Linked DNA regions of Homo sapiens: all the other regions are linked to region 1. The links are contacts of gene promoters, found by promoter capture Hi-C in blood cells and fetal thymus (Javierre and others, 2016). All regions are on one chromosome and are shown on one strand. Each heading gives the region's core, a stretch centred on a gene start or on the middle of the fragment in contact. The rest is flanking DNA. Distances are from core to core; before and after follow the strand shown.

The links. The method cuts DNA at HindIII sites, captures the fragments that hold promoters and counts their contacts. A CHiCAGO score of 5 or more calls a contact.
Region 2: a fragment that was not itself captured here is called in contact with the fragment with the promoter of EHF in region 1 in 1 of 17 cell types (endothelial precursors); the score reaches 5.0 in endothelial precursors.
Region 3: a fragment that was not itself captured here is called in contact with the fragment with the promoter of EHF in region 1 in 1 of 17 cell types (endothelial precursors); the score reaches 5.9 in endothelial precursors.
Region 4: a fragment that was not itself captured here is called in contact with the fragment with the promoter of EHF in region 1 in 6 of 17 cell types (M2 macrophages, M1 macrophages, total CD8 T cells and 3 more); the score reaches 8.4 in M2 macrophages.

What each region holds. Positions count from the first base shown.
Region 1 is chr11:34,619,643-34,622,342 of GRCh38, forward strand. EHF (ETS homologous factor) reads left to right here and starts at 1,451. Exons shown (of 9, transcript NM_012153.6): 1 at 1,451-1,586. The HindIII fragment of the contact is 6,441 bases long and covers 1-2,700 here.
Region 2 is chr11:34,775,458-34,778,157 of GRCh38, forward strand. All of the region lies in intron 6 of LOC102723568 (a long non-coding RNA gene), which reads left to right. Among named protein-coding and RNA genes, the nearest start is that of APIP, 140 kb to the right of the region's middle. The HindIII fragment of the contact is 1,321 bases long and covers 753-2,073 here.
Region 3 is chr11:34,859,718-34,862,417 of GRCh38, forward strand. The region is part of intron 6 of LOC102723568 (a long non-coding RNA gene); the gene reads left to right. The region is part of intron 1 of LOC105376624 (a long non-coding RNA gene); the gene reads right to left. Among named protein-coding and RNA genes, the nearest start is that of APIP, 55 kb to the right of the region's middle. The HindIII fragment of the contact is 2,813 bases long and covers 37-2,700 here.
Region 4 is chr11:34,840,093-34,842,792 of GRCh38, forward strand. The region is part of intron 6 of LOC102723568 (a long non-coding RNA gene); the gene reads left to right. Among named protein-coding and RNA genes, the nearest start is that of APIP, 75 kb to the right of the region's middle. The HindIII fragment of the contact is 202 bases long and covers 1,284-1,485 here.

The sequences.
Region 1 (2,700 bases), core at 201-2,700:
CTGCACTGACCAAAGCCTCAAGCCCTTCTTCAAGACCTGCCCAGCTTCCAAGACCTTCCCAAGTCCACCCTTGTTTTCCCACTGAGTCTTTTACACTTTCAGAAACCTCTGAATTTGTGTAGAAACTAGAAAAAATAAGTAAGAAAAGACTAATACTACTGCACACTCACTGTTCCCCCTTAATATAATAACCAGTTTTTATTCTATTCAGTCAGCCTTTGACCATAAGCAGACCTTTTTTTTTCTTTTTAACACAAGTAACTTCTTGGTTTTGATCACAAAATCTTTATCTCTGCCAAATCTCAACTTCCCTTCCCTCTCCCACAAAAGGGAGGCCCGTTGAGTCAAAGAAATCTGCTTAGACACTTTGCTCATGCCAGGCCAGTGTCCTGGAAGGTTCAACAGAGAAAGTTAATGGTTGGGGGATGGTATTTTTCTTTGCTAGGAGCAGTCATTCACCCGTATGGGAGAAGGTACATTTGTGACCCAGTGAAGCAGGTACAGGTAACTCCCCATATGTCCCTTGGCCCAAGGGAATAGAGGTTGCCTGGGTATTTGAATCCGTAGATCCTCCCTAATATTCCACCTTCTTCTTGTCCAAACTGTGCTTTTTTATTTCCAGTTTCAGCATTTTGGTCTTCTCATCTCTAACTCTTATAGGGAGTGTCAATAAACCTTTTAAAAAAGATCATGTAAGTGTCAAGAGGAAGTGAAGAACCTAGATAATCCACCAACCGGATAATCAGCTCTTGCATATTTGAGAGTTGACTGCTTGACCTAAGCATCTCCTCATAAGGTACCCTCCCTCCCAGGACCTTCCCTTTCAAACCTCTCAAGGCTCTTACCTGGGGCCAGGGGAGATAGGCTTTTCAAAGTCCATTGAATTGCCAAGAGTCTCTGTCAAGAAGGCAGTCATGGTGCCTGGAGAGGGAACTTGCTGGGAGCCCCTTCAGAGCCTGGTACTTATAGAGCTAGGGAAAAGATCTTGATGCCAAAGCAGGGTGGACTAAATACAGACTAATAAATGAGACAGGTGCTCAAGAGGGCCCCTCCATACCATCATCTCCTCCAGATTTGGACTTCTACTCACTTTGCTTTTACATTCCCTCTTCCCGATGGTGTCTTTGGTGAGCAGGGTGCTTTTCACCTGAAACAGCCTCTGAGCTGAAAAGAACAGTCACCACCAAATCAATTCCTCATCCATTAACAGGTTGTCTCTCTGTTCTTGAGACACAGGCATTACCTGGTTAGACCTGTTTTGTTTGAACACTAACGTGTGAGTTGGCCAAATGCAAATGAGCCAGTGTTTGTAATCCTTTATTTTATTTTTTTAAAGGGCTGGGTAGCCAATCAGAAGAGGGGGAAGTGACTTAGGGAATTCCCGGTTGGTGGCTTATTGCTTAACATCCTACAAAATGATTTAAAATTATTGTTATATGCATTTATCTTCACTCTGATGAGGGCTCAGACTTGATAACACCCGTGGTGCCCCATCCCTATAGGAGCTGGTGAGATTGCAGCCTGCTGCCTCCCCTCCAACAGCCACAGCTATTGGATTTCCCACCCAGAATCTTTAGGTAAATGAGGTAAGTCCTGATTTTTAAAACTTCTTTTGAATCTGGAATCCAAACACTTGAGTGGAAAGAGAAGCCTGCTTTAAACTGGACAGATGAAACTAGAACAGACTCTTGGAGACGGCTGGCAGGAAGTGAAGCTCACCTTACCTGGGCTTACCTCACTGGGTCAAATCAGAATTTTATTTTGGAGGGCAGGTTGGCTACTTTGGATATTATCTGTGAATTTCCTGCATTGTCTGGACTTCTAATCTCTGTGAATTTAAAAGCCCCCTCGTTTCCCTATGCCTGGGTGGCAAAACCATTCCCCTGGGTTGAATTCTTCTGGAACAAATAGGCAGCTAGAGATAGGTGGCTCTGATATAGCTCAGAGAAGAAGTGGTTGGCTAAGTAGCTGTTAGGGCTCAGAGTACACGGTCTCGCTTTCTAGAGATGTCTTCTGCTGGTAATTTTTCTGACTTATGAGCTACATGGAAAGGCCAATTTGTTTTTAATATGTTCCAGGACTGGAAAATGGCTAGAAATAGGCAAGAACATACACAATCACACTGGAAAAAGTGGCCAGGCAGCCAAGGCAGGCAGAGGTATTGGGGAGAGCTGAATATCTACAAAAACAAAAATTCAGAAAAAACAAAAATCAATTTTGGCAAAGGGCTTCACTGTATAACAAGGGGACAAGCTAACCCTTTGTTTACAAACTAACCCTTTGTTTACTCCATTTTGTCCAGAAAATACAACAATCAGTTTTGGCAAAGGGCTTCACTGTGTAACAAGGGGACAAACTAACCCTTTGTTTACTCCATTTTGGGAGACTATGATCAGACAGGCAGTTGTGACTCAGCAGCAACAAATGCCTTCTGAGACAGGGATTCTTTTGATTTTGCTTGGACATTGTGGAGAAGTGTTAGCCCCAATGTGGACTGATCTGGGAACAGTGGGAAATTAACTTCTTGTTGGTAAATATCAGGCTGAGGTGAGAAAGCGACATTTTCACCGTCCATCTTTGCTGATTTACCATGCTCCCAGGATGGTGGGAGTGTGTGTTTTTAAGATGGAGAGTGTATGCTTCTGGGTTCAAGTTCACAGGTGTCTCTGCTGGTTATCTGCACTCACCTTGGTAACAGGG
Region 2 (2,700 bases), core at 163-2,662, 160 kb after region 1:
GTTCTGATCGGCGAATGCCAATAGTTGCTAGGTAGGACTTGTAATCTTGGAGTTGCAGTTAGACCTTTGGCAGTTTTGGATTGGGCTTGTGAAACAATTTGTCAGGCAAGTGTTTCTGTGTACGTGGCTAGCTGTCCTTGTGCTGCTAGCTGTCCTTGCACAACTCACATAGTCGCTGCAGTATGGAAAAAATTTCTTGTGATAGTTGTTGTTGCTAGGCAAATCATGCATGAGAACCTTCCCTTGATGGCCTTCCCTGGCTCCATTTTGCCAGGTTTGACTTGAGTGACTCCATTTAGAATCTGACAATTTTCATTCTTCTTTCACTCAAATTTATGTGGTGAGATCCACTCATATTGGGCTTTCTTTTTAATTTCATATGGAATTCTATGTGGATATGCCAAAATGCATTTATCCATTTTACTATTGATTGACATTTGGGTTGTTTCTGGTTTGGGGCTATAATGAATAGTATTACAAAGACTATTCTTGTACATATCTTTTGATGCACATAAAAACATATTTTTTTTTGGATGTACACCTAGGAATGGAAGTGATGGGTCATATGTTATACTTATGATCACTTTATAGATATGGCTCAACAGTTTTCTGAAGTAGTTTAACTACTTTATTAATTTTAACATGTTAATTTATAAATTATTTCTTTTGTAATTAGCTGATTTTGTATCAAGTTTAAGAAATCTTTGCTTACCTGAAAGTCATGAAGATATTATCATCCGATTTCTTCCAAAAGCTTTATTGTTTTACCTTTTCACATTTAGATGTAAACATTTAAAAATTTTATTTAATTGACAAATTAGCATTTTTATTTGACAAATAAAAACTGTTGTCACCTTGTTATACAACAGAACTCTTAAAGTTATTCTTCTTGTCTAGCTGAAATTTTTTGTCTTTTGACCAACATCTCCTAAATCTCGCCATCTCCACCTATGGTAACTACCATTTTACTCTATTTCTGTGAGTTCAACTTTTTAAGATTCTCTATATAAGTGATATCGTGTGGTATTTGTCTTTCTGTGCCTGGCTTATTTTACTTAACATAATGACCTCCAGTTCCTCAATGTTGCTGTAAATAACAAGATTTCTTCCTTTTTATGGCTGAATAATATTCCATTGTGTGTATATGCCACCTTTTCTTTCTCCATTCATCTGTTGATGGACACTTAGGTTTATTCCATATCTTAGCTATTGTGACTAGTGCTGCCATAAACATGGGAGTGCAAATATCTCTTTGACATACTGGTTTTCTTTCCTTTGGATATATATCCAGTAGTGGTATAGCTGGATCATAGGCTAGTTCTATTTTTAATTTTCTGAGAAACCTCCATACTGTTTTCCATAATGACTGTAGTAAATTACATTCCCACCAACAATGTTTAAGTGTTGCCTTTTCTCTACATCCTCATGTACACTTGCTATCCTTAGTCATTTTTATAATAGCTATTCTAACAGGCATGAGGTGTTATCTCATTGTGGTTTTAATTTGCTTTTCCCTGATGATTAGTGATGTTAGCCATTTTTTCATATATCTGTTGGCTACTTGTATATCTGCTTTTGAGAAACATTTATCCAGGTCATAGGTCCATTTTTAAATTGGGTTACTTATTTTCTTGCATTGAGTTTCTTATATATTTTGGATATTAATCCCTTATCAGATGCATGGTTTGCATATACAGATGCTTGTTGACTTACAGTGAGGTTACATGCCAATAAACCTGTTGTAAGTTGAAAATATTGTCAAATCAAAAATGCATTTAATACACCTAGCCTACCAAACATCATAGCTTCGCCTAGCCTATTTTAAACATGCTCACAACACTTATGTTAGCCTACTGTTGAGCAAAAGCATCTAACACACGGTCCATTTTATGATAAAGTGTCTGATATCTCATGCAATTTATTGAATACTGTACTGAAATACACTTTCTGCTGAATGCATATTGCTTTTGCACCATCATAAAGTTGAACTATTGTTAAGTTGGGATCATCTGTGTATTTTTCTGTTCCTTGGGTTGTCTCTTTAGTCTGTTGATTGTTCCTTTACTGTGCAGAAGCTTTTTAGTTTGATGTAATTCCATTTGTCAATTTTTGCTTTTGGTGCCTGTGTTTTGAGGGTCAAAACTATAAAATCCCATTGCCTAGACCCATGTCTAGGAAATTTTCCCCTGTTTTCTTCTAGTAGTTTTATAGTTTCAGTTCTTACATTTAAATGCTCAATCCATTTTGATTTAATGTTTGCATATGGTATGAGATAGGGTCTAATTTCATTCTTCTGCTTGTGGATCTCCAGTTTTTCTAGCACCATTTTTTGGAAAGACTGTATTTTCCCTATTGTGTGTTCTTGACATCTTTGTGGAAAAATCAATTGATTGTAAACACATGGATCTATTCTGAGGCTCTCTGTTCAGTTCCACTGTTCTACATATCTATTTTTATGCCAGTACTATGCTGCTTTGATTACTGTAGCTTTGCAGTAGATTTTGAAATGAGTTAATGTGATGCCTTCAATGTTCTTTTTGTTTAAGATTGCTTTGGCTATTTGGGGTCTTTTGTGGTTCTAGATGAATTTTAGGATTTTTTTTCTATTTCTGTGAAAAAATGTCATTAGAAATTTTATAGGGATTGCATTGGATCTGTAGATTGCTTTGGGTAGTGTGGAGATTTTTAACAATGTTAATT
Region 3 (2,700 bases), core at 193-2,692, 240 kb after region 1:
CATGTAAGTAATCTTCGCTGACCCTAACTGGAGCAAAGCTTTTGCTGAAAGGAATGAATTATGTACCTATTTTTAGTGAAGTATCTGGTATCTGTCTGCTTTGGTTTAATATGCTTATGTAACCTCATTGAAGGGCTGATTTCCTCAGTTAATAAGGATGCAAAAGACCAGAGTGCCCACTTAAGAGAGACTATGTTTAGACCTCTCAAGGAATAATTAATAAAGGGAATCAAGGGTCAAAGATTATTTCAACTGACAAGTCTAGGCCCTTCTCATTAGTAAAAACTGCCCGGTTGCCTTGCAGTATTTTCTTTGCCAGGAGACAACACCTATCCTAAATGTTTAAGTGACTTCTTGTTGGGCTGGTTTCGGAGGATTAAGCTCAGTGTAATTTCATCCTTCCCAGGTGTGAGACACTTGCGTGTGCAGTAATATGATTCTGTACTGTCAGGGAAAAGAGTGTGTCTTTGTCAGCAGTGTTTGGCAGTCAAACCCCTGAATCATGACCTCACTTTCAGGTAATCACTCTTTGCAGGCTTAAAACCCCTGGCGTTACCACTTGCTCTTATGCTGAGAGACTTAAAGGTTTGGCTGCTGGCACGTGGTCCTGCTGGTCAGCAGAATGGAGATGATCTGTGCTGGCAGCCCAACTGGACTTCAGAAAGCATTCCCTCCCCAGCTGTTTGGATTCAGTTTCTAAGTGCTGAGCAATACCATCTCTATGTTCAAGAAGGGCAAAAACCAAAATGAGTAGTAATTATTTGGATTTGCTTTAGCCTGTAGTTAGATCAATTCTTCTTCTGATGCTTTGGGTAATGTCCTCAAAATGATTTCCTACTGAATGTTTACAATTTCAACATGTAATACATACTCTGGATAAAGCAGTAGCTCACAAATCATCTGATCAACAAGGTGAATCCTATCTCTGTCTTGGTCCACATGGAGACTAGCACATGTGATTGACAGGCAGATAAGGGCCGTATTGTCATTTGGTTGCACCTGTCCATATGGCGAGGGATCGGAAATGAGAAATGGCTGTATTCTAAGCTGGGGATTATAGAGCTGTGTTACTCTAAGTCTTACTGTCTTACAGTAGCAAGGAGCAAGAAGAGTCTTGAAAGAACGGAGCCTTAAATATCATAGGTCAAGCCCTATAGTTTCACAGATGAGGAACTATTGCCTCAGAGACAGAAAGCAACTTACACAAAATCACAGAGAAAATGCGAGTGGCCTTGCTGGGGTTAGAGTCAAAGTTTCCTGACACCCATCTAGTGGTCTTTCTGCTACACCTTTTTGTTTCCACAGAGTTTTACTGACCCCTGTATTAAAGAAAAAAAAAAGATAAAGGAAAAAAAGCCTGTTTTGGCATGGTCCCTTGTTCTATGGTTTAAGGTCAGTCTTGTTCTTCAGCATCAGCACTTTAAGGTTTTTTTTTTTTTTTTTTTTATCAGAAGTCTCTATATGGTTAGCCTGAACCAGATGAAATTGCTGCTTTTATGAGGCAAAAAGTTAAATATAGTAAATTTCAGATAGTTCTACCTGAGAGTTTTTCATTTAGAAAGTGGCAGTTAATGCCGGGCGCGGTGGTTCACGCCCGTAATCCCAGCACTTTGGGAGGCTGAGGCGGGTGGATCACGAGCTCAGGAGATCAAGACCATCCTGGCTAACACGGTGAAATCCCGTCTCTACTAAAAATACAAAAAATTAGTCGGGCACGTGGTGGCGGGCGCCTGTAGTCCCAGCTACTCGGGAGGCTGAGGCAGGAGAATGGCGTGAACCCGGGAGGCGGAGCTTGCGGTGAGCCGAGATGGCGCCACTGCACTACAGCCTGGGCGACAGAGTGAGACTCCATCTCAAAAATAAAAATAATAATAATAATAATAATAATAATGATAATAAATAAAAGGAAGTGGCAGTTAACATAGTTGTCCTTGAATTTAGTAAATTAGCAAATCATGTTCTCTTATTGGATTACTTATTAACCAAACCCTGTCCCCTAAACCTATATGGATACTTTCTACTTTTCCCTTTCTATCCAGAGGGAAACATAAAGCAATGTAAGAGGAATAGAGGAGGCTGACCATAGCTAAGACTTTTGTAAGGCTGCCAAATATAAGGTATTGCCAATGTCTCCTGTGTTCTTGGCCATTAAACTTTAAGATATCCCTTCCTTAAGTCCACTATTTATACCACCAAAACCAGGTCCAACTTCTTGATAGTACATTCTCATAGCACCTCATAGTTCTCTCTTGTAGCACTTCTACTTTTTCACTTACTTCTAAGGTTATTTTACTAACTTCTTCCAGATCTATGAGGGCAGGAACCTGACTGGTTTGCTTATGCTGCACTTGGAGCACTTAGCACAGAGTCCAGCATACTCAGCAAGTATGTGCTGAACGAATGAACAAAAGTCAAATGGTCTGATTTATTTCTGTCCACCCCACTTGGTGAACCTTATGTCAGAACATTTTTGTTTATTTATTTATTTGTTTGTTTGTTTATAGACAGAGTCTTGCTCTGTCACCCAAGTTGGAGTGCAATGGTACAATCATAGCTCACTGTGACCTTGAACTCCTGGGTTCCAGTGATCCTCCTGCCTTAGCCTTCAAAGTAGCTAGGACTACAGACACACACCATCATGCCTGGCCCAGAATATTTTGTTTAAATTTAAATCCAATAATGGAAATCTGTGAGAAAACC
Region 4 (2,700 bases), core at 135-2,634, 220 kb after region 1:
CAGTCTTGAAATACCATGAATCCTTCTAACTCTTAATGATCCTACCTCATGGTCCTATATAGCTGCTCCAGCCCCTGACATCACATCTGCATTCCAAGCCTATAGCTCAGAAAGAAGGACAGAGGAGTTATCAGAGAATAGTCAGCAGTCTCTGCCAAATGTCTTGACTTTGCTTTTAACATGGGAAGGGCAGGAAGGCACAGCCCATTACCGACGATGCTTCACTGATAACTAACATTGAATCCATAACATCTAGAACTGTTCTTTCCTTTGGTCTGAAGCTGAACACAGTGATCCCTTGGAGCTCACCTTTGGCATGGCACCTGGAACAGATTCTAACTAAACCACCAGTTGAAGGCCTTCTCCTCACTTGGTCCCTCAAGGAACCTCCTTCTTCTGCAGGGGCTTTCTAATCACACAACCCTTATAGGCCCCTGAGTCCTCTAAATTATTCTACTTGTTCTCCCTCACCTGACCATTTCCCTTCCTTGGCCTTTAAGCTGACTTCAGCCATTCCTTTTCATCCAGTTTTCAGTGTTGTGGTCATTTTTCCTGCTGAAGATGGAGAGACCGTAGGATGGCTGTGTTTCAGGAGAGGAGGGAACAGTCAGACGTGTTCACTGCATAGGGGTCACCTCCTACAGCCACTCCTGTTATGTAAGGCCATCTCTGTGTCTTTGCCACTTTGATGTTCTTTTTACCAAAAGCTGCCTCTCTAGCCTGGCTGAGTGTAATGCCAGCCCCAGAAGGAGGCAGTGGTGTAGTGGTGGGTTGTGTTCTAGGACAGATTCCCCACTTCCCCTTCACGGACCAGTAAGGACTCCTGCGAGTAGAGCACACCATGCTAGTGAGGCCCAGGTTACTCATGCAGCCCCTAGAGGGCAGTAGACTTTACTCCTCATCAAGGCCAGGCAATTGCCTAGCCCTGCCAACACTTGCCTAACCTTTTACAACTTATCACTAAAAGGAATGCCAACTAATTACTGGGCATCCACTGTGTCAGGGATTAAATCGGCTCATCAAATCCTAACAACAGCCCTGCAAGATGGGGGAGTTTAGCTCCATTTTACAAATGAGGAAACCAAAGACCAGAGAGGTTGAGTAACTTACCCAAGGCTATAGATCTAGAAAGTGGTAGGACCAGGACTGCAACTCAGGTCTGATGCCCAGACTATGTTCTTTATCCTATGTGAGTTGCCTCTCATTAAATGTCCATAATTAGTCAGTGGTACGGAGAGGGAGGTATGGAGAATCAACACAATGAATGCAATGAATATTTACTAAGCTTCTACTAAGTGCCAGGTACCAGGGATACAAAGATGGATAAGACATGATCCTCAAGAAATGTCAGTTTAGCCAGGAATACAGTCGTGGACATGGATTACTTCAGGCCAGTGTACTAAGGGCAAAGATCTTATGAATACTCAGCAGCATAATCCATACTTGGGTAGAAATTTAAGAGAGGGAGCAGGAGGAATCACAGGAAGCTTCCTGGAAAGGACCATCTCTGAGCTGAGTCTTAAAGGGTGAATTTGAGTAGACAGGTAGATAATGTAAAAGGCATTTCAGGCAGAGGACACAAAACATGCAAAGGTCAGGAGGTAGGGCCGGTATAACATACCAGCCATATACTCTGTATGTATAGGCTCCAGTGTAGCATTTCAGTATACACCCAGCAAACATTTTTCACCAAATAAATGCATTCTCCTCCTGCAATGGGTAGAAACACACACACACACACACACACACACACACACACACACACACGCACATACACACACCCCAAAAACCTTTCTGGTCACTCCATTAATTTTTCAGTCACATTCTTCTTGTCTTTTCTCCTGCCTCAGCCTGGCTCCCACTTCTGCCTCCTCCCCTGTTCTCAGGTTCTCTATGTAGAATGTTCTGATTTCACCAGAAGACTTTTTTTGCCATGGTCCTGAAACTCCATTTTGCTTGCATTCATTGGAAGCCAAATGAATGTTGTACTTCTTGGAGTTCTGCTGAGATGTTGGGGGGCTGAAAGCCAGCGTCTTGGGTGAGTGAGGTCTTCATAGAGACTTCAGGTTTAAGTAAGACTGAGCCCATCTGCTGCTTCCATCCTTCCCAAACCTGGTTCCCAAGCAGCACTGGTGTCAGTCTAGCCCATTGAGGAGCTTTGCCTCCCATTGGCTCCCAGATTTTAGTTGCCGGGACACCTGAAGGAGAAGAAGGGTGTTGGTCCTCAATTCCCTCCAGCCTCATGTTGCCGTGGCCTTTATCCACGCCTCCGTGCTGGGTCCCAGCCTCTTGATTTCCCTTTCTCCTCTTACTCCAGGCCTGTCTCCCCCATCCCCAGAAACAGTGTAACCTATGCTTAGAAAATTAAGTTTTACAGGTTTCAGTCAGGGGCAGGAATTTCTAAGGGTGGGATTTTAATATCAGTGTTCGAGTTGATTCTCCCAGCATTTCTTGGGGTGGGAACCCCCCTAGCACCCCTGAAATCATACAAGCCTGTTAAGACAGTGGAGCTATATAGACCTGGGTAAATAACTCTATGCTCACACAAACCTGAGTTCAAATATGGGCTCTGCTACTTCCTGGCTTGGTGACTTCAGCCAAGGAGCTGAAACTCTCTGAGCCTCTGTATTCTTGTCTATAAAGCAGGGATAATAGTGCCATGGTGTAAAGCACTTGGCGTGGATACTATTATTATAACAC